6 separate regions of the Homo sapiens genome follow, and regions 2, 3, 4, 5 and 6 are each linked to region 1. The links are contacts of gene promoters, found by promoter capture Hi-C in blood cells and fetal thymus (Javierre and others, 2016). All regions are on one chromosome and are shown on one strand. Each heading gives the region's core, a stretch centred on a gene start or on the middle of the fragment in contact. The rest is flanking DNA. Distances are from core to core; before and after follow the strand shown. Region 1 holds the start of TTC29-AS1 (TTC29 antisense RNA 1). Region 2 overlaps SLC10A7 (solute carrier family 10 member 7). Region 3 overlaps SLC10A7 (solute carrier family 10 member 7). Region 4 overlaps SLC10A7 (solute carrier family 10 member 7). Region 5 overlaps REELD1 (reeler domain containing 1). Region 6 has its middle 37 kb from the start of REELD1.

What was found. The method cuts DNA at HindIII sites, captures the fragments that hold promoters and counts their contacts. A CHiCAGO score of 5 or more calls a contact.
Region 2: a contact is called between a fragment that was not itself captured here and the fragment with the promoter of TTC29-AS1 in region 1, in 1 of 17 cell types (total CD4 T cells). The highest score is 5.8, in total CD4 T cells.
Region 3: a contact is called between a fragment that was not itself captured here and the fragment with the promoter of TTC29-AS1 in region 1, in 6 of 17 cell types (activated CD4 T cells, megakaryocytes, total CD4 T cells and 3 more). The highest score is 7.6, in activated CD4 T cells.
Region 4: a contact is called between a fragment that was not itself captured here and the fragment with the promoter of TTC29-AS1 in region 1, in 10 of 17 cell types (total CD8 T cells, M1 macrophages, total CD4 T cells and 7 more). The highest score is 9.3, in total CD8 T cells.
Region 5: a contact is called between a fragment that was not itself captured here and the fragment with the promoter of TTC29-AS1 in region 1, in 2 of 17 cell types (erythroblasts and megakaryocytes). The highest score is 6.2, in erythroblasts.
Region 6: a contact is called between a fragment that was not itself captured here and the fragment with the promoter of TTC29-AS1 in region 1, in 8 of 17 cell types (megakaryocytes, total CD4 T cells, activated CD4 T cells and 5 more). The highest score is 7.4, in megakaryocytes.

The regions. Positions count from the first base shown.
Region 1 is chr4:146,930,699-146,935,467 of GRCh38, forward strand. It overlaps TTC29-AS1 (TTC29 antisense RNA 1), which reads left to right and starts at 3,306. Exons shown (of 7, transcript NR_188447.1): 1 at 3,306-3,639. All of the region lies in intron 4 of TTC29 (tetratricopeptide repeat domain 29), which reads right to left. The HindIII fragment of the contact is 4,123 bases long and covers 2,453-4,769 here.
Region 2 is chr4:146,310,905-146,315,918 of GRCh38, forward strand. The region is part of intron 6 of SLC10A7 (solute carrier family 10 member 7); the gene reads right to left. Among named protein-coding and RNA genes, the nearest start is that of MIR7849, 95 kb to the right of the region's middle. The HindIII fragment of the contact is 5,069 bases long and covers 1-3,796 here.
Region 3 is chr4:146,326,040-146,330,451 of GRCh38, forward strand. The region is part of intron 5 of SLC10A7 (solute carrier family 10 member 7); the gene reads right to left. Among named protein-coding and RNA genes, the nearest start is that of MIR7849, 80 kb to the right of the region's middle. RefSeq lists an enhancer at 2,852-4,051. The HindIII fragment of the contact is 3,725 bases long and covers 267-3,991 here.
Region 4 is chr4:146,345,742-146,350,469 of GRCh38, forward strand. The region is part of intron 5 of SLC10A7 (solute carrier family 10 member 7); the gene reads right to left. Among named protein-coding and RNA genes, the nearest start is that of MIR7849, 60 kb to the right of the region's middle. RefSeq lists enhancers at 4,265-4,314, 4,325-4,384, 4,549-4,728, 4,625-4,674, 4,685-4,728. The HindIII fragment of the contact is 1,060 bases long and covers 1,549-2,608 here.
Region 5 is chr4:146,221,300-146,225,782 of GRCh38, forward strand. REELD1 (reeler domain containing 1) reads left to right here. Exons shown (of 8, transcript NM_001354631.1): 4 at 1,058-1,280; 5 at 3,146-3,309. Among named protein-coding and RNA genes, the nearest start is that of REELD1, 9.0 kb to the left of the region's middle. RefSeq lists an enhancer at 785-1,984. The HindIII fragment of the contact is 699 bases long and covers 971-1,669 here.
Region 6 is chr4:146,248,858-146,253,619 of GRCh38, forward strand. No RefSeq gene overlaps it. Among named protein-coding and RNA genes, the nearest start is that of REELD1, 37 kb to the left of the region's middle. The HindIII fragment of the contact is 944 bases long and covers 1,634-2,577 here.

The DNA of each region.
Region 1 (4,769 bases), core at 2,056-4,555:
AGAAGACACTATCAAAGACAAAACTCAACATAATAAAACCATCTTGCCCCATACATTGAGAGTGATGTGGCTGGATCATTGTTTATCCCACTGACTGACAGTTCTGGCTGATTCATCCTCTGTGGTACCTGTGTGCTTGTCTCCTTTTATCTTTTTTTATTTATCACTTTGTCCTATGACACTGAAAAAGGAATTTCCCAAATGGTTTTTAAATAGAGAAGTGCATTTTGCACTGTGGTTTACGGGCTATTGTAGGAAGAACCACATCCTTCAGCTATATTCTTTGTATTTCTAAAACTGCGAGTTTATCTGTACATTTCTGAAAAGTTTTTATTACAACTTGAAATTTTCTTAAAAAAACTGGCTGGGCATGATGGCTCACAGCTGTAATGCCAGCACTTTGGGAGGCTGAGGTGAGAGGACTGCATGAAGCCAGGAGTTGAAGTTCAATCTGGGCAACATAGTGAGACCCTGTCTCTACAAAAAAAAAAGTCCCCTCACTGATTAGTATTATAAGTTTGAAATATATGTTATTTAAAACTCTGCCTTTAGAACATGATGAAAATGATACTTAGTACGAAGCAAAAGATATAACTATACATAAAGAGAAATGATAAATTAATATCACTACATAAATCAACACATTAAGTTAATGCAAAATATTTAGGTTATTTATACTATTAATAAATGCTTAAAAGCCAAAGAAAAATGAGCAATGATAATTAATAATAGTCTGAATTGAGTGTCGTCTACACGTGTTTCATATAGAGAATCTCATTTACTTCTTGTAAGAATTTCTTGTTAGTATGCTCTCCAAATAGTTGTGGAAAGCAAAGATTGGAGAAAGCAGGTAACCTTAAGACAATACAGGTATTACATAACAAAGCCAAGTTTTCAACCACAGAAGGAATCAGCTCCTATAATAGCCAGAGCTGCTAGTCATGATTCCCATGCTTTCCTCTTAGAGACATCTTTTTTTAATGTCTATTAGAGCTGGTAAGCTTAAACACCATATGTGAAAATAGCATTTTAAAGCAAACTCCTAAAGGACACAAAGATATAAACGCCTAAGAACTTGGCATTTCTATGTTCTGTTGACATTTGAAATCTTTTCTTTTATCTCTATATTTGGTTTTGGTGAAAATTTGAGACCATTTTTTTGTACCTAGTGAACATTGTTGTTTTATTCTGTCTTGTTTTGTTTTTAAAAAAGCTCCTTCCAACTACATTTTTTAAATTCCCCAATTTTAAACTTTACTGATATCAGTCTTTTCCCCCTTCTTCTTTCTGCTTTTTCTTCTTCTTCCCTTCCTTCTCTTTCTTTTCTTTCTTCCTTTTCCTTTAAATCATGGCAAAACGATCTTTTCATTCCTGGTTTCACATCCTAGAGATCTGATCTCGAAGACAATGCCAGAATTTTTTCAAAAAGAAGTGGCAATTCCTTCTCTCTTCCCATCTGCATTCTCTGTAATCGCTTATTTTTAAAAAAATTCATGAGAAAGAAGAAATTTTCTCTTCATTTTAGAGCACCAAAATCTTCTTTTCCTAGCAGGAAACAGGGGTTCTTCCTTCTCCTGCCCACCTATCTCTGTCTCATCTGGAGATTAGTCATGTAAACATTTGCTTGGCAACTGACTTCTTCAGGAAGTTAATTTACAAACCTCCATAGAGAATTTATTACTTTACCAAAGAGCAAACTTTTTTAAGAGAAACCAAAATGATTTCACAAACATTTTCAAAAGTAAACAAAAATGAATGAAGCAGAGGAAGAGCACACTTGAAAGGATCTAACTTCCAATAAAGAATTATGAAATATTGTATCTTAAATAAATGGCTTCATCTTGCTCCATATGTTTGAGTGCCAGGGCATTGTGCAAATCCAGAAGGTAGATTTGCATATAAAAAGTATATTTGTAGTTCATAAAAGCATCTTTGGACAAAAATTTTGAGATTCAAGATAAAAACCTAATCTGCAAAAAACAAAATGTGGACTGGCAAAACACTAATTTACTTTGAGTAAGTATAATACAATTCAAAATGAGGCAGGAGAAAAAGGCTTTAAAAGATATGAAAGTAGGCCAGGCGCGGTGGTTCACGCCTGTAGTCCAAGCACTTTGGGAGGCTGAAGTGGGTGGATCACAAGGTCAGGAGATAGAGACCATCCTGGCCAACATGGTGAAACCCCGTCTCTACTAAAAATACAAAAAAAATTAGCCAGGCGTGGTGGCGGACGCCTGTAGTCCCAGCTACTTGGGAGGCTGAAGCAGGAGAATGGCTTGAACCTGGGAAGCAGAGCTTGCAGTGAGCTGAGATCGCACCACTGCACTCCAGTCTGGGTGACAGACCGAGACTCCGTCTCAAAAAAAAAAAAAAGATATGAAGTAAATTGTTCTTTGTTTCTTTACAGCCCAAACTCACTGAATATAGTAATGAACAGTCCTAACTGCCACTAAGCTTGCTGACAAAGTGATGCTCAATAAACATCCACTGATGATGCTAAAAATAAGATGTTCGGAAAGAAAGTAATATCTTAGAGATGCCCACAATTTTGAACCAAATATATCCTTCTGCATAATAGAACTTCATATCTGAAGCAGAAAATAATATTGAGCAGATTAACACACTCTGTCCCCAGATGATTTTGTTTCCTCACATACATAGCTAAAGCTGTAAAGTGCCCTCTAGAAATGTTTATTTGAATCTATAAATGACTCTTTTATTACTTAGCTACTCAAAGTAATTATGATATGATAATAAGTGATATTTTAAGTTCTTTTTGAAAACAATAATGCATTCTGATAATATTATACAGAATTAAAAATCCGAAGTACAGAAGTACAGAAACTCTTCGGACATGACTGTCTGTACTTGTTAAAGATCAGTTAGATAGTAGCAGTGAACCATTTGAAGTTCACTGCTAAGTCAAATTTGACTTTGAAGTTTAAAGTCAAATCATCATTATCAAATATGGAATGTGAATACAATGGATTTGATTTTTTTAAATGCACCTATAAGGCACAACAATAATCTAGTCACTTAGAAAGTAACGAAGCATACTGAAATTTCTTCTGTGAAGGTAGATGATACAAAACCCAGAAGCCTTTTGCCTTTGAACGATTCTACCATTCCCAAGTAAAATAAACCCCCATCACTTGGGTTTGGCCATTCCAGTGACAACTACATGTTAGCTTATCCTGCTTGCTTACTCATTTACATTGTATTATGAGGTCAAGAAACGGCTCACTGTGGAGGTCACATTCAAGTTGACACCTGCATAAGAAGAAGTGTCAGCAATAAGGCCACATTGGGAGTAGAGAGTGGTGGAGAGAAAGAGAGAAGGTCAGAGAGGTCAGTAAAGTCCAGACCATGCACAGCTTCAGGTCAGGTGAAGAATGGGAAGCTATTGGCAGATTTTAAGCAGGGGAATGTCATGATCTAATGTTTTCAAAAGACCACTCTAGCAGGAGTGTGGTGGAGTGAGAGTGGGTGTGGGAAGAGCAGTTATATGACCATTTAAGCGATCTTAGCAGACATGATGGCAGCTCTGCAATGAAGACCAGGAGATGAACACGGGATACATTTTGGAGTTGTAGCTGATCGGGCATACTGATGGATTAGAGGGGGGTAGCAGTAAGCAAGGTAAGACTCAAGGCTGCCTTGATGTTATTTGCTGAATGGAGGAAAGGCTGTGGGACGAATATTGGGGATAAGAGAGGAGTAGGGGTGAAGCAAGAGTCCAGTTTTGGGTTATATTAACCTTGGGATGTCTGTGATATATCCAAGTAGACACATCAAGGAGGCAATTGGATCTAAAAACTTTCAGCTTGATGGAGAGGCCAGTGCTGGATTTATAAATTGAGTAGCCGTTGGGTTATTGCTAATGTTTAAAGCTGTAAGACTGGGTCCAGGTTGAGAGTGTGGCTGAAGTGCACCTAGGACCCAGCCTTTGGGCACCTCACCACTGAGAGTTTGGAAAGAGAAAGCAGCCTGCAAAGAAGACTGAAGTGCTCCAGTGTGGAGAAAAACCACAGAATATGGCATCCCGAAAGTCACAAGCACAAAATGTTCAAGAAGATGAGAGCGTTCAACTTGGTCAAATGCTGTGAAGACATCTAGGAAGCTGGGAACAGAAACATAACTATTAGATGTGATAAAAATAGGGGTCATGGGTGACCCTAAAGAGGCATTTCAGTAAGTATGGGGGCTGGAAACCTATTTAGAGTCAACTGAGGCAAAAATGAAATGTGAAAATATTAAGACAGCACTTTTCTTGCTGTCTTGGGTAGATCAAAATGGGGTAGAACCTGGAAGGGGATAAGATGTCAAGAAAAAAGTTTGAGTAGAAATGAATACCAGTGAGATCGATCCAATGAAAAAGGAGAAATTGATGGTGTAGGAGAAAAGCAAATTTAACTGCAGGAGGTTAAGTCTTGGGAGCAGGTAAGGGGATGAGATGCAGAGCACAAGCAGAGGGACCATGCTTAGATGACAGTAGGAACTCTCCACCCATCGCATTGGGAGGAAAGTCACAGCATGTGAGTTTAGGTTGGCATATTTTGGGGTACATGATGAGAGGTTATTTTGAAACTAGACAGAGCATATGTGTACTATGGGATATCAAAGCCAGTGTACATCAATTGTATTAATGAGTATACACAAATATATCGATCACCATCTTAAAGACACGAATAAGGCAGTAGAGAGAGGGATTTGAGGATATATCTTAGACATTGTTTTTGCCTGATTTGATTCTTCCATTTCTACCCATT
Region 2 (5,014 bases), core at 12-2,511, 620 kb before region 1:
GTGAAAATCAAAGCTGGGCTCCTCTTTTTGTGCCTATGTGAAAGACAGGGGGAGGATGGGGGGAGGGGGATGAGGGGAAGGGGAAGGGGCAAACCACAGAACACAGCAAATGATTGGAGTGACTGGTTTCTCGACTCTCCCAAGGATGGTACATAACTAGTGCCAGGGTAGATGCATTAGGGAGAAGTTAGTTCAATACACACAATGAATGCCTTAGGACATCAGGGCTTAATTCTCTAACTGGGCAGAGAGAGACTGAGTGGAAGCAAGATTGACTGTTATCAACCCATTCAATCTAGAAACTATTTCATCTGAAAGAATCTGGGGGTCCACTTGGTAAAATAATATGGGGCAAACTAACCAGGCTTAGAAAGACAAATAGGTAGCAGTTCTTGATGAAGAGATGTTGACTGTCTGTAGAATCACAGTTATCAACCTACAGTTAGAAAACAGATGGTGCATTTTAAATCACTCCTGTAAGTGAGCTGACCTGTAAATTGTCATTAATGCACCAGTTCTTCACTTGCTCTGCTGTGTAATCGGCCTTTTATCTCCTATCAGGGAAATCCATTAGCCACAGGCATCTCCACTATTTGTGTCTCTTCCCAGCTATTAAAACATTATTGTATTAAATAATTCACCCTTGATGATTGGTCTTCACTTTCATTAGCACCACATTCAGGGAAAAATAAGAATAGATATTTACAGTTGATACTGTAGAATTATGAATGTTAACTCTCTTTTGCTAGGAAATCAGAAAGTAGCAGCTTCAGACATAGAGCAGGATTTGTTGTCTTCCTGCTCTATTTCCACCTCTCCACATCACCCGCAGAGCCCAGCCCTGGGGAAAGGGAAAGGGAAGAAGGCTTGCTTACTATTGTGCCCACACACAGACACACTCCTAATACCCATATCTCCTTCCTGTCACAAAGATAAACATTTAAACAGAAGAAGGAAGAGTCTCCCCAGGCCCCAATCCCCTCCCTATACACGATATAGTTCAGCTTTTCTTTCATTCCTACTGCTCCTTCTCTCACAGGGGTACATGCAAACTAAACTTACATAAAATTGTCAAGTAAATGTATACCAGGTGACAGACTCAAATGTTAAAAAGACTATGATTTTTATCAAAATTAGGAATATGGTTATTAAACAGCCATACTGATTCAGTTGCATGCATCAAGCTAAAATTGGGTTATTGTGTGGAAAGTATATGTTTAGGAGAGGAAAGTATCTTTTTAATATTTATATGCACAGTCTTTTTCCCTCTCTGAGAAATAAAGAACAAAAGAGGCTTAGTAGATTTTATCAATATAAAAACATTATATAAAACATGGCTTCACTTTTCTTTTTGTTTATATGCTAGCTACTGTTCTTTTCTTAGTTTTATTGAGGTATAATTGACAAAGATTGTATCTATTCAAAGTGTACAACATGATGTTTTGATATACATATATATTACAAAATGATTACTATGATAAAGCTATTTAACATACCCATCACCTCACATAGTTACCTTTTTGTGTATGATCTTAATACTTAAGATCTAATCACTTAGCAAATTTTAAATATGCAATACTTTATTATTAACTATAGTAGCGATGCTGTAAATTAGGTGTCCAGAACTTACTGGCTTATAACTGCAAGTCTGCATCCTTTGGTCAACATCTCCCCATTTCTCCAACTCCCTGGCTCCTGGTAACCTCCCTTCTACTCTGTTTCTATGAGTTTGACTCTTTTAGATTCCACATATAAGTGAGATTATGCAGTAATTTTCTTTCTGTGTCTGGTTTATTTCACCTAGCATAATGTCCTCCAGTTCATCCATGTTATACGCTAATTTAAAATGTAAGATGAAAAGGTTACTTTCTAATAACTTTGATGGAAACTTAAAGTGTGCAATCACAGGTTCAGGTTACTCAAACCCACACAGTCTGTTTAGTGAAATGTGCCAAAATGAACCGTAAATTGGCTTGTTCTAACCTAGAGGAAAGAGGAAAGCTATGAAGAATTGAGCTTCCAGGCCATGAAGGGCTGGAGGCAGAGATACTCAGAGGCCTCTAGGACCAAACTTTGCTCCCTAATTTTTGACCAAAGGATTTGGTCTTGTCAATCCTGAGTGTGGTTTGGGAACCAAAGGACCTGCTATTGCTAAATATTCTCTTAAGTAGAACACATGATTAAGTTCCTTCAGCTTGGTTACCAATAGGCAAGGGAGTAGCAAGGAACCAGTGTCTTTCCAACTCTGGATTGACCCTACCCGCTTAAGGAGCACCCCCAGTAGCTGGTGCTGAAGAAGGAACCAAAGGGCAAGGGAAAAGCCTGGCTAGGACAAGACTGCCCCAACTCATCCCATGTCTCCAGCTCACTTCAGTGAAGCCTGAGAAGTCCCACACCAGCAGTGCAACTGGCCTTCTTGGGACAGTAGTCCTTAATGGGGGAAGAAGTTTATCAATGTCACCTCTTTCACCTCTAGAGCATTTGAAAACTGCTTACTAGGTGCTTCCCTTCCCTTAGTCAGAAGCTACTCTTAGCTTCAAGGGGAGATTTGTCTTCATTTGCTTTAGAACAAGGTAGAGAAACTGACTCAATGTGAAGCAACTGAGACAATCAGATGGCTAGTTTTTTTTCAAGTGGTTTTAGGTTTATCATTTTATGCATCTCACACGTGTGTCCATTAATTATGCAACCATAAATGGAAACAAATTATAAAAAATAATTATTGTACATGACACTAATGGCTGTATACATTGTTTCTGTTCATAGTGATGGGATCAAAAGTTGAAGAATTTTCTATCATAGACAGCAAATTACTACGGAAACTAATGATGACTGTAGCCTTGAAAGCTGCCCCTTGGTCTCTTTCGCTGACCTAGACCTCTCTCTTCTATGAACTCCTATTAAGCTCAGTTCGAATCACAGTTTAGCAGTCAATTTCTTCTCTAAATTTCTTCCATATTCTTGATTCTTGTTTGCCCAAATACGTTTTAAGTTTCTTCAAGGCAATTATTATGCCTGCTTCTTTTTCCTCTTACCTATATTACTTAGGATATAATGTTCAAGAAAAAGTAATTGTGTGCTGATAATATGTTTTAAAACAAACTGTGTCTCCCAAGAGGCATGCTTAGGAAGCATAACCTGGAAGGGGCATTCAAGGGGAGGCAGACCCAGGCTGAAAGCGTCTTGTGTTCTCTACCAGTTGTGCAGTCTCAGTCGAGTGACAAAATCTCTCTGAACCTAGCTTTTCTCATATAAAGTGAAGATAATACCTCCAAAGCTAGTCATGCCTGTTACGTGGGATTATGCATCAAGTAACCATAGTAGCTACTCAATAAAAATTATCCTACCCCAGAAAAACAAGGTTTCTTATACAAAGATGTGAGAATTCAAACCTATTGAATTTAAGAACTACTGAAATGGAAACTAATTGGAGAGACAGTCAGATCAAGGGAACATATAGTTAGCCTAGAAACAGAGCCTGGTATGTATATATTCTGTGTACATATGTGTTTGTGTATACACATGCATATGTGTATATCAGTCCAATGATCACAGTGCCTTATAAACCTACTTGCTGAGGGGCCAGCTCTCTAAGAAACCAAGTCATATAAAACCAGTTGATAGAATAGAAGAGCTAGCAGTGCCCCCATTTACTCAAGGGGTGCTTACATGATTCCGAGTGGGTGAGCATGTAGGCCAATGTTTGTCAAATACCCCAAGGTAATGATGTGACCATCCCCATATATGAAGATGGTGTCATCTATGAACTCTGAGGATGACTTTCAGCAGTGGTCAAAGCTTGCACTCCACATGTTTCAAGAGGTCTTGATGCTCAATTGACCTTTATGGCTGGAGAGAGGAGAAGTGTGGCTTTGGTCTGTCATTCTAATGGTAAAAACTCAAAGTGTTACTGACCTTTCTCTGCCAATTATGCACCTATTTAAATAAATTGATGGTCTGCAGAATTTGGGGGCTTGAGCTCATGACAACACCATCCAATATATGGTTTCCTTAGACTGCAATTACACAGAATTAGACTGATTTGTTTCTATGGTGTGAACAGCTATCTTTGACCTACTTTGTCTTTCAGAGGGAGTAGGAAAGAAGCCTAGATACACAGGTAGCTTCCTTTCATTCCTCTTCTTAGAGTAAGCAAGATGTAGTTGGGGAGAAAGTATAAGTTAACTACTACGGAGACTGGTAGTCATATGGAGACTGCACAACTTGTAGAGAACAGGAGTCCACAGAAGGAAAGATTTCAAAATGCTTGATCAACTGTCCTAGTACTGTTCACTAGGGTTTAAAACCCAACCACCTGACTTCACAGCCAAAGTGCTTAACTCAGCCCTATCGCCTCTTCATCTTAATTACCATCCTATACTACTTTTCAAGTTTTAGAATCTCTCTCCTTCAGTCTTCTCTATTATATGCTGCTGATAAAGACCATAATAATGGCTGCTAAACACAGTATTAGTGATAAACCACATCAAAGGAAAGGAAAGATATGCAAGTTTTTAAGTGATGTTAGACACAGCAGAGAATCAGAACCATGCAAATGAAAACAAAAAACTGAAGTAAGAAAGAGATCCATTGAGAAACATTGGAAGTTTCTATCTACCTTTTCATTCTCCTCAAATTAAAAATTTTCTTTCAGTAGAAAATTTATTGCAAAAAATCTACTACTATTTAATGAAGTGTTTTCTATGTTAGTAATCTCCTTTGAAATATAACTGTGAAATTATAATTTCTAAGTTGAATTTTAATTATTTGTGCATGTATCCTCTTTTCTCTATTAAACCATAAGATCTTTAATGAAAGGATCAATGTCAGATTAATCTTTGTAGTACTCACAATACACAATAGGTTTCAATAAAAGGATGATTATTTTGCTTAAGATTATTAAAAAACTATAATTTATTTTTCATAGCAAATAAAAGGTAAGATGTTATGAGTCAGGTTGAGTTCCTAACCTCCTAACCATTCATTTATCATTTGAATCATTCTAATCATTCAT
Region 3 (4,412 bases), core at 879-3,378, 610 kb before region 1:
AGCAGGACACTTTCTTTGCCATTTTAAACTCTGAGGCATAGGAGTGCTTATCTTCTCACTGCTGTTTAATAAAATCTAGGAGATAAAGAGGGGAGAGTCCCAATCTTAGCTTTCTCTTCCATAATAACATCTCTATTACAATTATTTGTATTTGGCAGCCTGAAAGCACAACCACCAATCTGCCTTAGGTTCATCTTTCCTTTTGTAAACCTAAATTCCCTTCCACATTGCACGTGGATCATACAGATAGAAGCTGGTGGCTGGCAAGCTTCCTCACTCCAAGGCTTTCAACTCTAACTTGGATAAAATGCCCCTTTTTGAGAGAAGACAGGTGGTTTAGTCCCAGTTGGGGTCCTCTCCTGAGCAAAGACCACGTCAGTTGTGATGAATGAGATGTCATGATTTTGTAATGTGAACTGGTCTCCCCTAGGAAATGAGCTGGGATCTCAAAACTCATTTCACTTGATTAGACTTCATGTCTCCATGGTGGAAGGCAAGTCTTTCATCTAATTCAGCCACATAGGACCACCTCGGTCCCTCTGCCTCCCCTAGGCAGAAATGAGCAAAAGATTTGTTTTCTTCGATGACAGGGAACAGTTTGAGGCTGTTGCCAATGAGGCAGAATACCAGCTTTTAGGTTTCTTGAAGGCAAATCTTTAAAACTAAGTGTTTGAGTTGGGAGTTGTAATGACAGGCTTCAGTTTTGGAGCAGCAGATGATTATTTGCCCGTTTTAGTTTTTCCTTTGTCTCTCAACATTTCATTATGATTTATACCAGAAAAAACATTTCAGATTTTTATTAATGAATTCTACTTGGAATTTTAAAATTTCAGAGAATCTGAGGTTGTGCGTGCCTAAGACAGAAAAGAGAGGGACAGACACACACACACACACACACACACACACACACACACACACACACACACACAGAAAAAGAGAGAGAGAGAGAGAGAGAGACAGATAGACAGAGGTACTATATATCCAGACAGTGTCCAAGATCCAGATCTGGGACTACTTCATTACTTTTGGAAGAAAAAAAGTCCTTTTGGTATTTACATGAAAGTCCCTGTGTCATAACAGTCACTCAAGTGTTTTGCATGTGGCCCAAGAGGGACTGGCTTACCTTAAATGAACAATGCTACCATGACTTTCTGGGGCATATACACATGTGAATATCCACAGACAGACTTGTTTTGTTATTAAATAATAGAATGAACATTTTTTATTGTGCACACTTTTGCAATTGGCCAAAGAGAATACAATATTTTAATCTAAGAATCACTTTAAATCCTACTTATTAAAACAGGTATTGTGGCCTATCAACTCCATTGGTATCTATGAAACAGGTTCTCATTAACACATTTAGGAGAGCCAAATGTGCTAAATGACAAATAACTGATAACTTCGAAGGGCTACTGTCCTTCAATGACTTGTACTAAGTTCAGACTTTAGGAGGAATTCCAAATTTTACAGGGCCACATAAAAATGAAAATATCTAGCTGACTCAGTCTATATGAGAGGCATTCAATTTCAAGCAGATTTGTTTAAACATATAATTAAACATCCACTTATATACTGGGTACTGGGCTCATCCAAGAGATTCAAGAGTAAGTACAACATGGTCCCTATGCTTAAACAGCTTATAATCCAGTAGAGGACACTGATCTATAAACAAGGTTCAATATAGAATGATATAACTGCTGCGACCGGCGCTGCCACAACTACCTGTGCGCATTGTCCAGGGGCCTGAGGATTGATAGCCCCCACCCCTGTGCCACTGCATCTAGCGCCCATGTGCACCATTGGGGGGCCTGAGAATAGGCCCACTCTGCCTGCACTGGCACATGTGCACATCATCTGAGGGTCTGGAGATCAATATATGCCACTCACTGGCATCTGCAGGCACCGTCTGCAGACCAGAGGTCAGGCCAGCCCCACCTGCCACAAGTGCACTGGCACCTCTGCACATCATATGGGGGCCTAGGGAATGACCCACCCTGCTCCCTGCCACTGGCGCCTGTGCACACCATTGGGAGGCCTCAAGAGAAGCCCACCCTGCCTGTTGCCTCCACTACCAGCACCAACATACACCCTCTAGGGCACTAAGACTAGGCCTGGCTTACCTGCTACTGCCACCTGCACAGGTCGTCTGAGAACCTGGGGATTAACCCATCCCTCCCACCAGCACCCATGTGCACCATGTGGGGGCCTGAGGACGGGCCTCCCTGTGTGCTACTAATGTTCATGTTGTCTGGGGGCCTCGGGATTTACCCACACTTCCTTATCACCACTGGTGCTTGTGTGGACTATTGGGAGGCCTGAGGAGAGACCTCTCTCACCTGCCACTCCAGCCACCAGTGCCTATGGACAACATTCCAGGGCCTGGGAATTAATCTGCCCCACCTACTGCTGCTGACACCTGTTTGCATCATCGGTGGACCTTAGGAGAAGCTGTTCCTCTTCTACCACTGCTGCTGCCAGCACCCATGCACAGTGTTGGGACTCACTCTGCCCACTACTGCCAGAACCTATGCAAACCATCCCAGGCCTGAGGATAGGTCCACTCTGCACTCCACCACCACCTCTGGGGTCCATGGACTGGACTGTCTGGAGTCCCTATCCCCCAAAATGCCTCACCATAGCCTCCACTAACAACCACAACAGACACCACTGAGCTGATTACAGCTGAAGAAATACAGAGACTACAATACTGTGCCCATCCAGAATCAAAGCCAAGGCAACCTACCAAACCAACACTATAGATATATCTATAGGAAAAATTCTTTCCCTACTAAAGCCAATCTATAAAATTGGAAGAAGCAACTGTTATGCTAGATGTGCAGTAAGGACAAAAAATATGAAAAAGCAAGAAAACATGACACCTTCAAAGGAACATAATAATTCTCTGGTAACAGATCCAAAGGAGAAGGAAATTTATGAAATGCCTGAAAAAGAATTCAACATAATGATACTAAAGAAAATCAGTGAGATAGAAAAGTGTTGTTATCCACAGGTTTTTCTCCCTGAATACTTCTAATGGATAGTCAATGACACATGATAGTTTCTTTGCAGCTCTTCCAAGGACTTATAACATTTGTTCCCAAAATAGTAAAAGTTTCCTAGCAAATAGGAAGGATTTGCTAATTCTGGATTTAATATTCCTTCTTATTTTCTCAAGAATAGCTGTTCAGGTTCATTAAGAGTGAATCACTGTATAATGCTGAAACCTACTTTTCAGTTGTATTAGGAAGTGAGTCAGCCAGGAGGCATTCACTTTGAGAAGAGCACCATAATTTTTAGTAAAGTCATCATGATTATTATTAAAATAATAAAAACTAACATTTATGTAGTACTTATGTTGGATATTGTACCCAGGATTTAGCTATGTTATTTTATGTAATCCTCACACTCTCTGACATAGGTACTATTATTATATTATCCCATCTACTAGGTAAGAATGCTGAGCCTCAGAGAGACTGAGTGAAGTAGGAAGAAGCAATGCCAGGAATTGAACCTCCCCTTGACTCCAGAGCCTGTGCTCTTGAATGGTGTAAATAAAATCTTTGCATTGTTAAGTTATTTCCTCAGGGTTGTATTTTAAGAGTAAATCTGAGAGGAGTTTCAGGCTCAGTATGTCTTTTTGATAACATAAAACAAATTAAGAAGTAAGCCTTCATGTCATATGGCAGATACATTTTTTTAGAGTCAAGTTTTTGCAAATATCAGTGGTAAAAAGGGTGAGCTAAACATTTAAACTGCATCAGCAACAATCACTGAAAGCTAGAAAATTAAATAAACATGTTATTTTCTTTTGAGTATATGCAGCTCAATTTAATTATTTCTCTTTTCTCTTTCCTAAGTAAATTCTCCTGAAAATGGATAAAACCAAAGTGGTAGGAGATAAGCACTTCTAGCAAAAGATGTTACCTCCTCCTTGCAGATTCAAGGTAAGACATAGATTTAGCATCCTTGCAATTGGGATGGTGTATAAAGCTTTCTGATTGCAACACCTGAAGAAGTCAAGTCACAAACTGACTGGCTTTCGTTGTCTCCTGAAAAAACTTTCAGAAAATCCATTTACACCTCAGATGTGAATGACTAGGTGAATGTATTTCAATGACTTTAGTGGAAAGAAAGAGTGTTAAATCTTAGATAGATTTAGCTGCATCAAAATACAAACAAAAAGCCCCAAATAACAGCAAGACAACAAAACTGTGAATGTGCTTCTCTCAGCAATAGGACATGCAAAAAAAAGGCAAAACTAAAGTGAAATTATGAAATTTTTGAAATAGAAAATGTTATCAAGAGGTTTTGCTGCAACAACTACAAAGATCACACAGATATTAAAATTGACTTTTTAGATTTGTCTCCAGGATACTGCATTAACTCAGTTTTCACAGAATAAAGAATAT
Region 4 (4,728 bases), core at 829-3,328, 590 kb before region 1:
TTATTTTTACTCTATCTTGTATTTCCCATACCTAGTGAAATGCTTGGGACATAATAGGGGCCCATTTAATATTTTTGAATGAATAAATACATGAATAATAGGTATTATTTATTAAGCATTCCTCCTAGATACTGTTCTTGCACTTTGCAAGTGTGACATAATTTTGAAAAGAAGCCAATAGATAAGCACAATTATCATCCCCATTTACAGATGAAGAAACCAATGCACACAGAGGTTAGCTAATTTGCCCAAGGTCAAGCTGTAATTTTTGAGGTCAGGATTTGGACTCCAACAGTTTGATTTTAGCACCCACAACTCTATACTGTAGTTCAGTTGTCTTATGGATGAAAAAGCATTTATGGGCCCAATCTCCATTTATAAGGTTGGAATTCAAAATTATTCCTCATAGAAATCAATGACTGATTTATAAACTAGGAAGCTAAGGTACAAACTGATGACCAACTCTATTGGGGAACTGTGTGGAATAAGTTCTGAAATTAACTAGTATTAAGAAAACAACAACAACAAAAAACAACAAACAGCAGTTTCATGTGAGAGCTTTGGTAGCTTTTTATGTTTCATTGGTTATAACAGAAAAATACATATATGTGCAATATGTGTAATGTATTTTCTGAAGGTATGAGGGCAGCCCAAGAAACAATGACAAAAACAATGTCCTCTTCTGGATATCTAGAACTAGATAGTACATGTTAGGATTCAGAAAACCTTTGATCTTCTGAGAAATTCTATTTTTGAAAAAGAAAGTGAATCAAAATAAAGCTATGAGCCTTAAGTTTCAGAATTACATAGATACATGTCTCCCTTTTCAACTCGGTTTAATTTCAATTATAACTTTTCAGCTATATTTATTTTTCAACTAATTTTATTTCTATTAAGTTGGTCATTTGAAATTACAAAACAGTTTCATGAGTATTTAAATGTGTAACATAATTGTAATCTATTTTTTCTATTATCACAGCATGCTTAAGAATATATCACAATATGAAAAACAAAGATCCAGGAAACCTATAAATTCGAACAATTTATCATCTAAAACCTAGCAAGCCATATCATTATTTTTATGTTTCAAGTCAATTTTATATTATTAGGATCTTTGTGATTTCATTCAACAAATAATTTTTGGATACCTACTCTATGATAGGCATACCCAAGAGGAGGGGGGAAACAAAGATAAAGGTGGCCTGGTCTCTATCCTAAAAGATCTTACGGTCTAGTTGCAGCAAACTAAAAAGGTAAAGGCCAGATAATGGGGTTAAGGAAAGGCTGCTTACCTCACCCAACTGAGCGAGGGGTTTCAAAAGATGTAACATCTAAACTAAGACCCAAATGATCAGTAAGAATGGCCCAGAGAAGGGTAGAGGTGGAAGGCACCTAAAAATGGTTTAGGGAATGGTGGGGGTCAGAACAGCATGTGTGAAAGGCCTGTAGACAAGGAAGTGTGTTCGTGGTGCTTAGAGGAAAAGAAAGGCAGGGCATAGTGAATGGGACATAATAAACACCATTCCCATGGCACCAATCTCTCACAGAAGCTTCATGAAAAGATAACCAGTTATATCTACCAGCCTTCTCATCTTCCAGGAAATCAAAGACACAGAAAGGGCAATGAGATTATGAAATACCTCAAAAAGTGCTCTTTGGAAATTTAACTTTCCTCAGTGCTAAAACTTTGTTTTTTAAAAATTTTACTAGTAACCAAAATGTCAGCAAAACCGAATGTTACCAGTGCTGCTAAGTTGAGACATGGCTGGAGTGGAGGACAGGATTGTAAAGTTAGAATCTTAAGACTGTCCAAATCTTCTATGGCTGGCAAATGCTTTGTTCTCTGAAGAATATGTATTACTATAGTGAACTTATTCCTTCTGAAATTTTTCTTACTTAGCAAGGAGTTATTTCTATGCAAAAATGGAAAATTCAAAGACTAAAAACCCTCACTGTATAGTAATCTATATTGTTTGTGTACTGGTGCTGTCTGCTTAGCCCCAAGTCATCAATTATGTATAGAAATGTACAGCTACAGCAGTAGCCAGTGTCATGGGCCTGTCAGGGATTTCTTAAGAGGAACAAAAACACTTGATTCTATCTACTTTTAGAAAACACAGGATAGGTGAAAAGAGGAAGAAAATGAAAGAAAATATGAGTAATCCTCAATACATACATTGGCTTCTTATAATAAATGAAAAATAAATTTTAAAAAAGCACTTGAAACCAGAAATATAACTAAGAGAAAGCATTGGATATAGACACAAGAAAGGCTGACATCAGCACATCAAAACCACACACTTTAGAATACAAATTCATTTCTTATATATTCCAGGAAAAATAACTAATGGGGGTCACCAAGCTCTAACCTCTCTGAACCAAATTCAATGGATCCAGTGTTTACAACAAGGAGTAGTCACGTTATTTGAAATAAAATGTTCTGTAATTACCAAACCTCGTTGGCTTCTGAGGTGAGAGTTTTCATTCTAAATGAATGAAGTATGTTTACAAACTGACCTGGGAGCACAAGGACTATAAAGATTAACATGAAGAAAATGCAATCTAAGATATCTTATGGAATTTTCCCTATTATACCAAACACAGCAAAAGCTTTCACTGGGATTTCAATAAATTTAGTTTTACACATTGCTACAGAAATTTAGTTATTCTCCCTTTCTCTAGTGGATAGCTGGGGTAGCAGCTGGTGTGCTGTGTATTTAAAACGTGTAAAAGAACTCCTGTTCTCTCTCAGTACCTACATAAATGTGCTTGAGGAAATTTGAAAAAATGATTTGCTTTAAGTAAAATGACTTTATTACCTTTCCTGTAGGGTATTTGACAAGCTTTTAAACATCTAAGAGTCATGTTTTCAGAAAGCATACAGATTTCTTCTGGAGAAAACTACAGTACATAAAAACGTATCATTTAAATTTATGTAAATTTTCCTGAACCACACATTCTTGAATGTATATCTTCATTGTTCAACACTTTCTGGGTAGAATTTTTAATGCCTGATTTTTATAAAATAATTTACTTGACATGTAAATATTGTGAGATAGCCAAAGATATAATAATTTTCTATTACTTTAAAGAGTGTGTAACAGTCGCACTTTGTCATTACTATACAGGTTAGATCCCGTGCCATATTAGTCAACCAAATTCTATAAAATTGAAAGCATATTTAAAAATCAATGCTGAGACATTAGGAAATGCCTGAAACAGATGAGAACCAAATCAATTCCCTTATTTCTTAGATTTAAAATGGGCATAATTTGCTGATCATTCACTGAGAGTGTAATTTAGCAAAACAGACCCCAATGAATGCTGAAATATGTTTTCTCAGCTCTTATTTTTCAAATGATTTTTGCTGGTTTTAGTGTAAACAATTCCAGCATATTTAAACACATTACAATTAGACCCACAACCTACCAAATTAACTACTTGTTACTACTATAGTCCATTAAACAGACACTTCTCAAAAGAAGACATACAAGCAGCCAAAAAATACATGAAAAAAAATGCTCAACATCAACAATTATCAAAGAAATGCAAATCAAAACCACAATGAGACACCATCTCACACCAGTCAGAATGGCTATTATTAAAGTAAAAAACAACAGTTGATGGTAAAGCTGCAGGGAAAAGGGAACACTGGTACACTGTTGGTGGGAATGTAAATTATTTCAGCCACTGTGGGAAGCAGTTTGGAGACTTCTCAGAGAACTTAAAGCAGAACTACCATTCAACTCAGCCAATCCCATTACTGGGCATACATCCAAAAGAAAATAAATTGTTCTACTAAGAAGACACATGCACAAGCATGTTCACTGCACCACTATTCACAATAGTAAAGACATGGAATCAATCTAGGTGTTCATCAACAGTGGATTAGATAAAGAAAATGTGGTACTTATATACTATAGAATACTATGCAGCCATAAAAAGAACAAAATCATGTTCTTTGCAGCAACATGGATGCAGCTGGAGGCCATTATCCTAAGCAAATTAATGCACATTCTCACTTACAAGCGGAACCTAGATATTGGGTTCTCATGGACATAAAAATGGCAACAATAGACACTGGGGACTAATAGAGCAGGGATGAAGGAAGGGAGGCAAGGGTTGAAAACCTACTGGGTACTATGCTCACTATCTGGGTAATGAGATCATTCATATCCCAAACCTCAGCATTATTTCATATACCCTAGTAACAGTCCTGTACATGTACCCCCACAAATCTAAAATAAAAGTTGAAATTAAAAAAAAATATATATATAGGGGGAGGAGCCAAGATGGCCGAATAGGAACAGCTCCCGTCTACAGCTCCCAGCGTGAGCGACGCAGAAGACGGGTGATTTCTGCATTTCCATCTGAGGTACCGGGTTCATCTCACTAGGGAGTGCCAGACAGTGGGCGCAGGCCAGTGGGTGCGCGCACCGTGCGCTAGCCGAAGCAGGGCGAGGCATTGCCTCACCTGGGAAGCGCAAGGGGTCAGGGAGTTCCCTTTCTGAGTCAAAGAAAGGGGTGACAGACGCACCTGGAAAATCGGGTCACTCCCACCCGAATATTGCGCTTTTCAGAACGGCTTAAAAAACGGCGCACCACGAGACTATATCCCACACCTGGCTCAGAGGGTCCTACGCCCACGGAATCTCGCTGATTGCTAGCACAGCAGTCTGAGATCAAACTGTAAGGCGGCAGCGAGGCTGGGGGAGGGGCGCCCGCCAT
Region 5 (4,483 bases), core at 70-2,569, 710 kb before region 1:
GTCATCTTGGGTCTGGCTTTATTTTACTTACTATGTTTTCAGGGCTAACTGATAAGGTAGCATGTATCAGAGGGGTAACTGCATTTTAAATGTGGAAGATGTTGTCAGGTTACACCACAAAAAGTTGGATGGTTTATAGTTCCAGCACTAGTGAATGAATGCCCTAGTTTTTCCATAGTCTTATCAAGACTGCTTACAACCACACATTTTAACATTTGCTAATATGAAAGGTATAAAATAATATCTCATGTATAATTGCTTTAAAAATTATTACTGAGCAGCCAGATGCGGTGGCTCACGCCTGTAATACCAGCACTTTGGGAGGCCGAGGAGGGCGGATCACAAGGTCAAGAGATCGAGACCACCCTGGCCAACATGATGAAACCCTGTCTCTACTGAAAATACAAAAATTAGCTGGGCGTGGTGGTGCGTGCCTGTACTCCCAGCTACTCGAGAGGCTGAGGCAGGAGAATCGCCTGAACCCAGGAGGCAGAGGTTGCAGTGAGCTGAGATCGTGCCACTGCACTGCAGCCTGGTGACGGAGCGAGACTCTGTCTCAAAAAAAAAAAATTATTACTAAGCTTTTTTTATTTCTGTTTGTATCCTTTCATTATTTTGAGGCAGTCATCTTTTTATGAATTCACCATGACAATGAATATTTGTCTGTTTTATGTCTTACAAATACTTTTTTTTGGAAAATAATTTTTTTTAATCATCTGTCCAGGGTTCACCTAAACTCATATTTTAAAAAAGTATAGCACACTTTACTCATCTTTTCCTTTATGGCAGCTGGGTTTTGCTCAGAGAGGTATTTCTAAATCCAATATTTATAAAAAGAAAAAAAGTTTCTAGTTATTTTTTATTTCATTTTCGCATAACTTTGATCCAAATGGAATTTATTTTGGTGTGAAATAGGACTTCAACTTTACCCCCCTCTAATGAATTGTTCACTTTCTGGGGGCTGATCTTAAGCTTTTAGTTTTGAAAAAAGCTGCATAAAATCACCACACGGAACTAAGTCACACGTGTTCATGTTGAACGGGTGTTTTTGTTGCAGTGACAGTGAGAAGCAGTCGTGATTTCATGGGATTTCTCCTTCAGGCTCGAAGAGTGTCCGATCATCAAATCGCTGGCACTTTCGTTCTCATTCCTCCTCATTCCAAACTGATGACTTGTTTTCAAGAGGCTGATGCAGTCACCCACTCTGACAAGTCCCTGAAGAGAAACCTGTCATTCGTGTGGAAGGCCCCAGCCCAGCCTGTGGGGGACATTAAGTTCCTGTAAGAGAGTGAAGTGCTGTTTCTTAGAAACTGAGCCTTCTACTTTGGAGAGAGGGGAGCTTCTCTTTGCCCTGACTTCATATTCCCTTTCCCCCTCCTTATGTGGCCACCTTATAGCAAGGACAGGGTCATGGATGCTGCCTAAACTGGAGAGCCTATGCAGAGGGAAACTAAAAAAAATATTGCCCCCAAACTCATCCCTTCATCACTGTCCATGGGCCTAGAGTGTGTTATCTCCCTGCCTCCCCAGGCACAGGTAAATCTTGGCCAACCTCTCTAGGAGTTTCTGACCAGAGGACAGAATGGCTGGCGGTGGGGAAGGCAGGAGAGAGCCAAGAAAGAGAGAAACAGGCAGATGGACAAATGGACACGTCCCTGGGCCCAGGAAAAGCTTCTTGAGGCTCTGTGCCTTGGCTTGTTTTCTATAAATGGGCATAACCACAGCACCTCCCTCAGGGTTGTATATGGATGAGAGAGCCTACGTTCGCTCAGAAGAGTTCCTGGCAACAGTAAGCACTTTAAAAGCATCATTAGTACTCAAAATGAGGTACTTGTTTTGTCATTCTTTTCAGACACTTGCATTTACCAAGAAAGATAATTTTTCTCTTTCGGGAAAGGGTGTGTGTTTCTGTTTCTCTTCCCCACACCCTCCTAAATATGAAGGAGACTGCGCCTGCAGGCAGAGGTAGTCCAGCTCACATGCTCCCCTCCAGGACTCCCCTCTGCTCTGGGGAGCAGTGGGAGAGGAGGTTGGTGGCCCTAGCTTGTGGTGTCCCTTCTCCCCCACCTCCTGGTGGCACAGGGCAGCAGACAGGACAGCAAGAAGGGAAACACGTGCCTTAGGATTTTTCCTCTTTGGAAGGCCCAGGGCCCGCTTACCTGTGGGTGTGCCCAGCTTCTGCCCTTGGCTTTGGTTCTTACGCAGCGCAGAGGGTGTCTGCTTCTTGAAGTCCTTAAACCTGTACAGTCACCTTTCTTTCTCAAAGCACCTCAATTCCTATTTTTGGATGTACCATCATAGTTGCTGCGTGCCACATAGCAAGTAGTGTAGAAGCTATGATCTCCATTTGACAGAAAAAACGAGGTAAGTCACTTGATGAGACACCTGTCCCAAGTCACCCTGTGATCTCCCACCTCCGGGAACGCTTGCGCACGATAATGTCCGCCGAGTCTGGAAACCGCATGTTGGGGGCCTGAACTATGACGCTCACTGCGTCTCGAGCCTCTGGGTGACTTCGGCCAAATTAATCACCTTGTTATGTCTGCCTCCTGAATACTTAAAGTGGGAAAAATGGCACTTGCCAATAATCCCTCCTTTACTGAAATATTTGGAAGAACAAATGGCATAATGTTTGTGAATGTGATTTTTACTGAAGAATTGCTTTTCAAAAAATTATTTAGAATATTAAGGATTTATCTCTAATTTCCAATAGAATCTACAATAAGGGTAGACATGTACAATTATACAACAGAATTATAAGATCTTCAAATCATGACATAATAACTATATCAGGAATGGCTAATAGTAACATTGATGATAAAACCTTTTATTGGAGTCTAAACAGTTTGAGGAGATACTTTTTAGTTAAAATGAGATTTTTAGTGACTGTATTTATTCAAGAGGACTATTGATTTGTTCATATCATCTCCTATTCTAATTATTTGCAACTATGGGGTTTTTGTTTTTAAAAAGAATGAAGTCACTCAAAGAGTAATAATATAATCTCTCTCTCTCATTCTGCTATTTATTTAGTTTTGTTCCTCTTTATCTGTTAGTGTGTTCTCTCTTTTCTGTGAGGCTGGCCTGAGTTATTATTTAAAGGAAACTAAATCCGTGAACTGCTCTGCTCTTTCTCTTTCCCCAGTTTATCAGTAGTCCAGTCATATTTTGTTTACTGGGCAAGGATTGAATCATCTGTTGTGTCTCAACAGACACATAGCAGCGCCCATTCTGACGACCGCATGGAGCCCAGATTGCTGATGCCAAACCTTCACCAGAGGCTGGGCGATGTTGAAGGAGCTGCTCCAGGTACAGCTTGTCATTGTATTTGCCAGGCTGGTTGTCATCATTATTTTTACAGTTATCTATTTTCACTTAAAAGTTACTACTGCCAGTTTCCTGTTCCTGCAAAACAAGCAATAAACACCTGCCGTGGCCAACTGCAGCAGTTCTTGGGGATGTGATAACGCAGCAGTGAGAGGGAGGGAACGCTTGCAGTTGCTTTGTTTGTTGCAGCAAACACACTTTGTCTGGCTCAACCTAACACATTAAGTCAGGCCCCAGGGTGGACAGTGAGAGCTGTGCTGCAATACCAAAAAACAGCATACACCTCTTCCCCCAACATTTACTAGTCCTCACAATATTTCTGCTGTTTTCCTTAGTCCCCTGAAGCTACGCAGGGAGCACAAAAAAGAAATGAGCTTTTCTTCGTCTTTTCTCATAAAAACGCATCCAGTTTTTATTGTTACTTTTCATAGTAGGTAGGTGGCTCTTTGCAACCTGGGTTGGAGAACAGAATCAGGAATCACTGTTTCAATGGGAAGGGATTTTTCCTTGCTCACTACATGGCTTTATATTCCATTAGTCCATGAACTCCTGAAAAAAGAAAAGAAAAGCAACAAAACAAAGGAAAACCACTAGCCAGCTAGAGGCTGTTTGACCTATCTGAAAATCCCTGGTGGTATGGAACTCCTTTTTGTTGTTTATTTCTAGTTAAGTGCTATGAACACAAGCACTCGTAAAAGCATCCAGACACATGCACACAAGACCCTACCCTTAATCCATTCATTCTCCTCTTCGCTTATTCTTTCCTTTACTCTTTGCTAATATGTTAAGGCCAGAATCCAATCAGAATCCCTGCCTCTTCTCAGTCTAGCAGACCCAGGTACAGAGACAGTGGGGACCACCCTCCATTCTCTGCCTTTGCCCCACAACCTTTGTCTTCTTCTATTACCCAGCACAACTCCTCCAACCTTCCCACCAAGACACTCCTAAAAGCAGAGTAAAGATCTCGGAGCCTGAGACCATGGCCTGGAGAAGACCCTGCACCCCTGACATATGTTTGAAATCTCATGTTTTATTTTATGAATGATGCAAGTATCATGTTTTAATCCCAAGTATAACCATGTTTGTTTGAACATGAATATGAATAAAAGTGAAGCTTCAGGAAGAAGTGTCATGTGGAGCCTTGGGCCTTTCTATG
Region 6 (4,762 bases), core at 856-3,355, 680 kb before region 1:
TGAGCACACAGAATCAGAGTCCAGACTTCCAGCAATGAGCACAAGTCAACATCGTTACAAAAATTTCAAGTTTAGAATAGCAGATAATAAGGAAATGACCCATTTCTAGGGTGGAGGGCAGGGTCCATTTCCTCATCATGTTGTCTTTTACTACCAGTGAACTCTGAGACCTGGTATATATGTCAGAAACCCAAGGCTCTTTCCTTCCAACTGTCTGGAATTTCTGAGTTGTAGGGCTTTTGACTCACTCCACATGAAGACAGAACATCCTGTATTAAAACTTTCATTGAGGGCCGGGCGCAGCGGCTCACGCCTGTAATCCCAGCACTTTGGGAGGCCGAGGCGGGCGGATCACGAGGTCAGGAAATTGAGACCATCCTGGCTAACACGGTGAAACCCCGTCTCTACTAAAAATACAAAAAATTAGCCGGGCGCGGTGGCGGGTGCCTGTAGTCCCAGCTACTCGGGAGGCTGAGGCAGGAGAATGACATGAACCCGGGAGGGGCAGCTTGCAGTGAGCAGAGATTGCGCCACTGCACTCCAGCCTTTGCAGAGCTCAAGAAGTTCAGAATCATTGCGACTTTCCAGAATTTTAGCACATGAGAAAACAAGATCTTCCAAGAACTATGAGGTTTTTGGGCTGTCATGGAGTCTACTTAGTGGTTAGACATGTGGGCTCTTGGAGTCAGGAAAAGTTGAATTTGAATCCCAACTCCACCACTAAAAGAGTTGTGAGGCTTGCATTCCCTGCTTACTGTTTGGTCTCAGTTTCCTTACCTGTTCAATGCAGATAATAATGGTACGTATCCTACTAGGGTTGTTGAAAGAATTAAATGAAAAATTCGAGTAAAAAATTTAGTACTGGCCTGTCGTGTAGAGGTATGCTGGGGTTGGCTGTACCAGCTTGTGAGAGCCAATGGTGCACATCTCTTCCTAACTCTGCCTTCGGTGCTGGTAGCTTGAAACCAGCCCAGTCAGGAGCATTTATACTCCAGCAATTGGCAAGTGCTGCAAATCAGAGCAACTAGTATGAATTGTAGCAACTATCGTTACAATCCCCCATTCCATCTGAATATGTATTAACTTATATTTGGATGTAATGGTTTGAGAATGAATTCCATGTTCTGTGGGAAGTATTCTCTCCCCAAGATTTCCAGGAGCTTCCATTCTTCTGATCATCTCATGCACAGAATTCCTGCCTATGACTTGGTGTCTTTATTACTGGAATGCTTGCTTCCTGTCCTCTATATACCCTCTTGGTGGATGCTGAACGTTTTACTTCATTTTCTCCCAAATGAACAAAAAGCTCTGATGTAAGGCAGATTTTCACTAAAGTTTTTTTTTTTTTTTTTGAGTGGGGAGGAAGGGAGGGGACACACGTGTTTTAGAACTGCAAAAAGTGCAAATAACTTAAACTAACAATGCTGCTGCTGATAGCAACCACTGCCATTGCCACCACCGTCACCACTCACACAGGTCACTAAGTATGTGCCAGGCCTGCTCCTAAATGCTCTGCGTGTATTGATGTATTTAGTCGCTGTCTTCAGGAGGCCCTTGCCATTACTGCCATCAGACATTTCTGTGTCTTTCCTCCTCAGTCTTCAGCCATACTGCTAAAAAGTCTACTGCTAAAAGCTTCTATTTCTCTTTTTTCTTCTCTTCTCTCCATTCTTGAACGTCTCAGCCCTTCTTTCCGTGCTGTCTACTCTCACCCCAAGTTCCCCTCACATCACTTTGTAGAACAATTTGATTCTTGTCTTGCCTTCACCCACCTAGGTTGTGCTTAAGCCTTCCTCTTTCTTTCTCATGATGAAAAAGAGGTTTTTCTTGACAAACGTCCAATAGCCTAGACATGACTTATGCTGTTCCCTCAAGAAGAAGGACAGGTCGCACCAGTTTGTGTTACATGCTTATTATAAGCCCTCCAAAATGTGATCAAAGTAAAATGTAAAATTATACACCACCTCTGCATTTCTACTTCCTTGAAGTAAACACTGTGAAATATAGTCTAAAAATGGTTAAAATGCTCCTACTTAATAATTTTGTGGCTTTGGGCAAGCTACTTAGTCTGTGATTCAGTCTTGTCATCTATAAAACAGGGTTAATATTACCTACGTCATAAGGTTGGTGAGGGTAAAATGAGATAATGTTCAGTGCCTGGAAAAGTACTAGGGATAAAGGAAGAGCTCAATAAATGGTAGTTATAATTATCCTTCCAAATGTTTTTTAAGCATGTAGTGTCCCTACAGATATGTAACATTTTAGTTAATGAAAATATCGGATCTGTAAAAATAGGATCAAAAATGCATATTTTTTCCTGAAATGTACTTTTTCCTCCCCCTCAACAAAATACTGCTATTCCAAGGCAGTCTACCCTCACTCCTTTAAATTGGTCCAAATGTTCTAAAGAAGGCACCATTGATTATTTAAACGCTTCCCTGATTCGGGGAATTTGGGTGTTCTTTGTGGTCTTACCAATACTCCGAACACATCCTTGTCAGTGGACTCTTGTGCACTTATTTCTGCAGGGTAGACTCCCAGAAATGCAAGAGTTGGGTTGAAGGGCACATATATTTAAGCTTTGGATAGTAGTGTTAAATAGCCCACCACAAATTCCATCTCATTTACACTCCCACTACAGGGCAGAAGTGCCCTGCCCCACACTCTGTCAGTATTTGAATATTATGAAACTTTAAACTTTTTGTCAATCTTTTTCATGGGTGAAAAATAGTATCTCATTTAAATGTACATTTCCCTGATCCATGGTAAGTTTGAATATTCTAAAATGTCTATTATTCGTTTTTATTTTGTCTTCTATAAATTAGCCATTTATATCATTTGCTTGTTTTCTACTGTACTTAAAAGTCAAATACTCCCTTCTCTCTCCCTGACATTTAGGGAACAGCTTTTCCAGGACATACCTGAATCCTCATATTGCCTCATTCCAAGTTCAGAAATGTGAGCTCACCTAAATGAGAGGGAAGTAGAAGTGATGATGCTTGTCAGGTTATATAGCCATCTCGGGGAATATGGCTTTTTAAAGCTTCCCATGGCCATTGCAAGTAGATCTTAGGGCACATTTGGAAAGTTAGAGAATGAACAGAGCTAGCTGCATTTCTGTGAATTTTGGGATTGGGGAGAGAAGAGAAAAGAAGGGAGGTGGGCGGGGAGAGCAGGTAACAGGGCAGGTAGATGGAGCCTTTGGGGAGGGAGGGGTGGTCAGTGAGAAATTCCAGATGGCTGGTGGCTGGCAGATGGGCAGGAACAGGATGTACAGTAGTCATTTAAGTTTGCACATCCCCAGGCCGGGCGTGGTGGCTCATGCCTATAAACCTAGCACTTTGGGAGGCCGAGGTGGGCAGAGTGCCTGAGCTCAGAAGTTCGAGACTGGCCTGGGCAACATGATGAAATCCCATCTCTACTAAAAATACAAAAACTTAGCCAGGCTTGGTGGCAAGTGCCTGTAATCCCAGCTACTTGGGAGGCTGAGGCAGGAGATCGCTTGAACCTGGGAGGCAGAGGTTGCAATGAGCTGAGATCACGCCTCTGCACTCCAGCCTGGGTGACAAGAGCGAGACTCCATATCAAGAAAAAAAGAAAAAAGTTTGTACATCCCCAGACTTTCAGTGTGTTGAGACTTCTGTAGTGATCAAGTAACTGGAGCTGAATTCCATGTCTGGGTGGATGAAGTTCACAGAAGAGAACAGCCATGGCGTTTGAGATGCCGGAGAGTTCAGAAGTGGGTGGAGATCTGGGAGAGCCCGTTTCAGGTGATTTGGATGAGGACCCTATGATCCAGCATGACCCTGTGATTTCAGTGCCTTTGTTTGCACTCGTGTTGACAACCACACCGCACCCTGCTAGAGTGACAGTGTTCAATGTTTAATACAGAGTTTCTCATAATCAGGTTTGAAGAGAAGTTCTCCAGAGTCTACAAAATTTTTTTCCCTTTAAATGGGTTTTGCATTTTACTCACATTTGAGAAAAACTGTCCTATAGTGCAACTAAGATTTGTTAAAGAAAGTCTTATAAGACCTTTCATATATTGCCTGTATACAAACTGACGATGATAATTTTTATCTAGTTTTTAAAGTAAGTACATCAGAATTTCTATAAGGAAATCTTTTATTTTTTATGTATATAAAGCTTTCATCAATTCAGATCGATCTAACTTGATTTAGCTTAAATTACTGAGGGTCTATTGTTCTGTCAAGGCATGCAAGATGAAAGTTGCTTGCATATCATACCTGCAGTCTTGCCTTGGAGAGTTAATATTTACACAGCTATGAAGTAATATATTCCTATGAGGAGCACAAGGCAGTGCTTCACAGTTTATTCACAATAGGAATTGTAGTAAAAGAGTCAGTTTTCCTTATAAATTAATAATGACCCGATATAGAGAAGAGTGCTTGTAATTGTGAAGGTTCATGTCCTACCTATTAAGATCACAATTTGAAAAGTCAATACACATTTTTTGGCTACTACTTTGAGCCAGGCATTGTGCGAGGCACAGTAGAAAAACAGAAATGTTTACTGCACTGGAGGAGACAGCAATATAAACTAATGATTAAACTATGCAGAGGTTTCAGAAGACTTGAGGGACACGTTGTAAGGACATGTCAAAGGACGCAAGTATGGCACTGGCTTGGGAAGTCTTCATGGAGGAGGTGACATTTTTGTCAGGCTTCCAGGGGAAGAGGATTTCTATGCCAAGAAGACAGCAAAGACAAGAACACAAAGGTATGAAATTCTATACAAGGTA